Linked DNA regions of Homo sapiens: region 1 is linked to region 2. The links are contacts of gene promoters, found by promoter capture Hi-C in blood cells and fetal thymus (Javierre and others, 2016). All regions are on one chromosome and are shown on one strand. Each heading gives the region's core, a stretch centred on a gene start or on the middle of the fragment in contact. The rest is flanking DNA. Distances are from core to core; before and after follow the strand shown.

Region 1 (2,754 bases), core at 31-2,530, 960 kb after region 2:
ACCTTCCTTTATACAATCATTCTTTATGACCTTCCTTACCAAAAATACATCTCCACATCCATAACTTTCTTCACATCTCTCTCCTACTTATAGATTCCTTATTTCATAGCCTTTTCTAATCCATAATTTGAATCAACCTTTATATAGTTTCTGAATTTGACAAAATTATTATCTCAATAAGAACACATTTTAACTAAATATTTTTATTTGCCACTTCAAAAGTTACCTAAGCCTCTTCCATGGAGATGGTAAGGTGTCCAGTGGGAGCTGTGGGGGACCTTGGGCCCGGTCAGTCTTGTTTTCTTGGCCATTATGGGTTTGGGTAGCCTAGGCTCCCTTTGAAGCTTGGAACAGTCCCTTTTTCAATGGCCCTCTTGCTTACAGAAGGCACAGTGATATTGGCCCTGGGGCCAGCAAGTTCGGGGCTCTCATCTGGGCATCTGAGATGCTGATCTCAAATCTCCTCAGGCTGGCTAACCCTGAGGTGGGAGAGGGTGCTTAAAGTAGTCACTAACAATTGCATTTTGGATATTATTTCTTTTGGTTATCTCTGCCTGTTTTGACCTGTGCCTATTGTTGTAAACTGGAAAGGCCATATTTAAAAATTGGCTTATAGGAGTTTGCGTTTCCCCTTTCTGCCTGTTATAGCTTCCTCCTAACATCAAGGACAGACTGAGTGATAAAAGAGTTTGCCTTTCTGGGGAGTCTGTCCTGCAATATTTCCTGAGTGCCTCAACCAAACAGCCCTGACTAGAATAGGATTTTTATCCTCCCCTACAGTTACTTCTCTAACCTTGTCATAATTAACTGGATTAAGCACACTTTCATATCTTCTATTAAACAAGTTACCTATGATTTCTACATTTGAGATCTCAGGAACCCCTCTGGTAATCCCATGGGGGTCCAAATCTGGAAGTACACTCCCACATACAATAAATGGCATGATCCTGGTTACAAGCAGCCATTCCATCAGCATATGCCCAGGCAGTATTCAAAAATCCCTTGTTTCTCCTCTACAGCACAGCAGGTGGACACTATTTGCAAGTCATGCCAAGTTACATCAAACTATAAACTTCCCTGGATCCTCTGATACCAGCCAATGTTTCCCTTGCATGAAGCTAAATCAGACATGGAAAAAGGCACAAGTACTGTTCCCGCCATTAGCAACGTCTCAACCTCTCACAATAGATGTAAGTTTGATTTTAAGGGCTGATAGGACTTTATCACTCCTGATTAGACTGGTTGGACTTATTTCCTCAGGCAGTATGGCATATAGGCTGGAGCTAGTTGGTTAAAGCAGAGGGGTGCCTGATGAACTTGGGATGGAATCCTGTAGTGGAGAACTGGCAGGACCCCCTTCCTCATATTAAGGCACCAAGGAGGCTCCAGGGAGAGTGAACCATTTTTAGGCCAAATTTCTTGGGAAATTAATTTGTACTAAACACTGTTATAATAGAAGATGAGTTTTTAAGACATCAAATTTGAATTTGCTTTAGTTGCCTAAAAGGCACCCTAGCAGGAAGTGTTTCAGGACGCTCACTGTTGTTATGTCTACCAGAGATACCTACTAAACCCAGAAATTCTTCCAAGTCCAGAGAGTCCAGTTACTTTTCCTTTCAAATTTCCACCTCCCTTTTCTTCAAGAGCAGTAGGGAAATTACCACTGACTCCTGCCAAAAGAACATGGGTATCAAGAAGTAGGTGCCACAAAAGTGAAAGATGAGTGGGCAGTGGGCTGGCAACTACCATCACTAGCTAATGGAATGTTACAAAGAAGGCACTTTAAGTATGGAAGTAAAAAAACGCTGACCAAATTAAGAACCCTTAGTGGAAATTTAAACCCCAATCTTAGAAAGGTGACCAAAAAACAAAGCCCCTAGGGCAGGACTCTCAATTCTAACGCCACGTAGAGTGGGACTGACAATAACCCAATAAATTCCCCCTAGAGTGGGACTCTAACCCAATCCTAGAAGGAACATGGCTCTGACATACAACCATGCATTTAGGAACTGAATGGTAATATCAAGTAGCCAGTCATTAGAGATTTAATAGACGATGGTCAAAAACGGGGCAATGGGGACATAATCTGAACATGGGACTAGCTGGAGGCCCCACTTTCATTTCCTGGTTTACCCAGAAAGGTCAATATGACAGGGAAATCACAGAAACCACATGGTGCCAATTGGCCATTAATTTGGGTCCAGGCAAAGGTTTCCAAAGCTTCAGTGTACAACCAGTTAGTCACCAAGAAAACATGGCTCTGAAAAGAGCCTTTGGCTAGTATATAGCATTACAGTATCACAACTCCAAACTTTATCTTGATGGTCAACCCGCTCATCTTGATGCTCCCTTCATGGTCTCTTCATTTTGATGGTTCCTTCCTTCAGGGTCACCAGGCTGACACAGGTGAACCCCAAAATTGGGACTTAACCCTGGAGGGCTTTTGGCTTCAGAGTTAATTTAAAAACACTTCCTAGACCAATAGTGTACAGCAAACTGCTCCATAAACAAAGGGCGACCTGTGTGCTAACCCACAGGCAGCACAGCCTGTAGTAGTAGTATACAGAAAAGTGGGTGCTCCACAGAGCACAAGCTAACCCACAGGCAGAGCAGCCAAGTAGCAGCATGCAGCAAAGTGGGCGCTCCACACAGCACAAGCTAACGCACAGGCAGAGCAGCCCAGAGTAGCAGCATGCAGCATAATAGGTGCTCCACAGAGCAAGGCTCACCCATAGAGCATCCCAGAGTAGCAGC
Region 2 (2,910 bases), core at 259-2,758:
TGGGACTGCAGGCGCCCGCCACCGCACCCGGCTAATTTTTTGTACTTTTAGTAGATACAGGGTTTCACCGTGTTAGCCAGGATGGTCTTGATCTCCTGACCTCGTGATCCGCCCGTCTCGGCCTCCCAAAGTGCTGGGATTACAGGCGTGAGCCACCGCGCCCGGACCAGAAATAATTCTTTTGGTTGGGCTTTCATTGCCAGCTTACATACACTCTTCTTGATTGGGCAACTACCTAAAGAAATTCACTCAGACATTGTTCAAAGGATGTTTTCAGAGGGCAATGATTTATAATAGCTTAGATAGACTCTCAAAGCTCTACTTCTGAGATCGAAATTTGAACTTGTCGTTTAATCACTACATGTCACTTATTTTTCTTTCTATTGAGCTCTGGGAAGCATTGGAATACAATCTTCAGGGGGATTGAAACCATACGTGGTGAGTGGACTAGTCATTCCTCAACTATTCAGTAATAATAGGGGCTGGGTTTCACTAATAATGGGAGTAGATGTTTCAATCTACGTTTCTTATTTATTTTGCCTTATCATCAATGCTTGAATTTCAGCTCTAAGCTACTTTATTGCAATTTGGTTCTGAAGCATATGCCAAAAGCACTCAGCAAGGCTGCAGACAAATGCTTTAAAGTAAAGTGCACCTCCACTTCCAGTGACTTTATGAACATCACATTTGAAAATTAATCCTTTTTCATCTCTGTACCCTGAGTACATTTTGGACTTCCCTTCGTTCCCAAATACCCTGAATTCAAGGTATCTCAATCCATGGAGCAATTGTCCAGAGGAAGAGAGAAGCAACAGCCCCGCCCCCAACCCTTGGGAGCAGAAAGGGAAAGAATTATCCAAAGAATTGTTTAAAAACTCAGATGTAGCGGACAGATGTAAAACCATGGCTGTATAGATTGATGTCCCAGGGGTCCAAAACTTAATCTCAAATGGGCAATAATTTGTTTGGCATTAAACTAAACCAGTTTGATGAACTCAAATGCCCTCGGCTCAATAGGCAGGACTCTCCGAGGAGCCTGTGTTACTTCCCTCACTTAAGTGCAGATTTGTAATAAAAATCTTAATGCCAGTGGCATGCTTTTTGGATATATAAGAAGCTAACCACTTGGAGTATCATATTTGAGAGGTCAGAAAAGTCCACAGTTAAAGATCGGTTTATAATTTACGAAGAAAATAGAAAGTTTTGTTTCTCTGAGTTGAAATTTGCCAAGCACGGCGGGAAATATTGCAAGTTTTTGGCACAAGGCTTTGTGCTTCCCTTATAATTTGAGATCTGCGTGAAGCCTGAGGGTTCGGGGATCATTATCTGAGAAAAACCGGGCAGTTCGGTGTAGACAATTTTTATATTTTTGGCTTTTTTTGAGGTGTAACAAACACAACTCGGGATCCGAGAGGACACTCTGCGGCTGCCAGCGAGGCGGGCTGGACAGCGCACCAATCACGGCGCAGCTCCGCCCTATATAAACGGGCGGGCGCAGCGCCGCGGCTCGAGTCCCGGCCAGTGCCTCTGCTTCCGGCTCGAATTGCTCTCGCTCACGCTTGCCTTCAACATGTCCGAGACTGCGCCTGCCGCGCCCGCTGCTCCGGCCCCTGCCGAGAAGACTCCCGTGAAGAAGAAGGCCCGCAAGTCTGCAGGTGCGGCCAAGCGCAAAGCGTCTGGGCCCCCGGTGTCCGAGCTCATTACTAAAGCTGTTGCCGCCTCCAAGGAGCGCAGCGGCGTATCTTTGGCCGCTCTCAAGAAAGCGCTGGCAGCCGCTGGCTATGACGTGGAGAAGAACAACAGCCGCATCAAGCTGGGTCTCAAGAGCCTGGTGAGCAAGGGCACCCTGGTGCAGACCAAGGGCACCGGCGCGTCGGGTTCCTTCAAACTCAACAAGAAGGCGGCCTCTGGGGAAGCCAAGCCTAAGGCTAAAAAGGCAGGCGCGGCCAAGGCCAAGAAGCCAGCAGGAGCGGCGAAGAAGCCCAAGAAGGCGACGGGGGCGGCCACCCCCAAGAAGAGCGCCAAGAAGACCCCAAAGAAGGCGAAGAAGCCGGCTGCAGCTGCTGGAGCCAAAAAAGCGAAAAGCCCGAAAAAGGCGAAAGCAGCCAAGCCAAAAAAGGCGCCCAAGAGCCCAGCGAAGGCCAAAGCAGTTAAACCCAAGGCGGCTAAACCAAAGACCGCCAAGCCCAAGGCAGCCAAGCCAAAGAAGGCGGCAGCCAAGAAAAAGTAGAAAGTTCCTTTGGCCAACTGCTTAGAAGCCCAACACAACCCAAAGGCTCTTTTCAGAGCCACCCACCGCTCTCAGTAAAAGAGCTGTTGCACTATTAGGGGGCGTGGCTCGGGAAAACGCTGCTAAGCAGGGGCGGGTCTCCCGGGAACAAAGTCGGGGAGAGGAGTGGGATTTTGTGTGTCTCCGGAGCTATTTTTGACTAAGGCGTCGCGTCGCCCAAGCCGGAGTGCAGTGGCGTCATCTCGATTTTGCGTTCTCGAGTGTCGGAGTTGAACCCATTTGGGCCTCCCTTGTGCTTTGCACTTTTAGCAGGCCCTGGCCTCCAGATAGCATGGGAAAAAAAATGTTGGGATTTTCCCGGGTTTCTAAGCTGGGTTTTTCCGAGTTCCAAACACGGCACAGTGTATCAGTTTCTGTGCTGGTTACAAGCCTACTGGTTATCCCTATCGAGTATGGCAGGCAGTGAGGGACTTCAGAGGAGTACGTCTTAGGACAAGTGGCATAGTACTGACATTATTTCCGAAGGGCTACATTTCAAGTGCTTGGGGAGACTACTGCCACATAACTGAAAATTAGAAACCGACACTGCAGAAAAATACTTGGTCCTTAAATGTGGCATTTGGATGGATTAAGGACTTGCCGAAACGTAAAACTGACAGACTTGGGGGGGGGGGATGTCC

The links. The method cuts DNA at HindIII sites, captures the fragments that hold promoters and counts their contacts. A CHiCAGO score of 5 or more calls a contact.
Region 1: a fragment that was not itself captured here is called in contact with the fragment with the promoter of H1-4 in region 2 in 1 of 17 cell types (naive B cells); the score reaches 5.5 in naive B cells.

What each region holds. Positions count from the first base shown.
Region 1 is chr6:27,112,135-27,114,888 of GRCh38, forward strand. No RefSeq gene overlaps it. Among named protein-coding and RNA genes, the nearest start is that of TRS-GCT1-1, 16 kb to the left of the region's middle. The HindIII fragment of the contact is 1,876 bases long and covers 343-2,218 here.
Region 2 is chr6:26,154,821-26,157,730 of GRCh38, forward strand. H1-4 (H1.4 linker histone, cluster member) reads left to right here and starts at 1,509. Exons shown (of 1, transcript NM_005321.3): 1 at 1,509-2,295. The coding sequence starts at 1,571. The coding sequence ends at 2,230. RefSeq lists enhancers at 1,237-1,988, 1,513-1,672, 1,933-2,012, 2,742-2,910 and a silencer at 2,303-2,352. The HindIII fragment of the contact is 19,818 bases long and covers 1-2,910 here.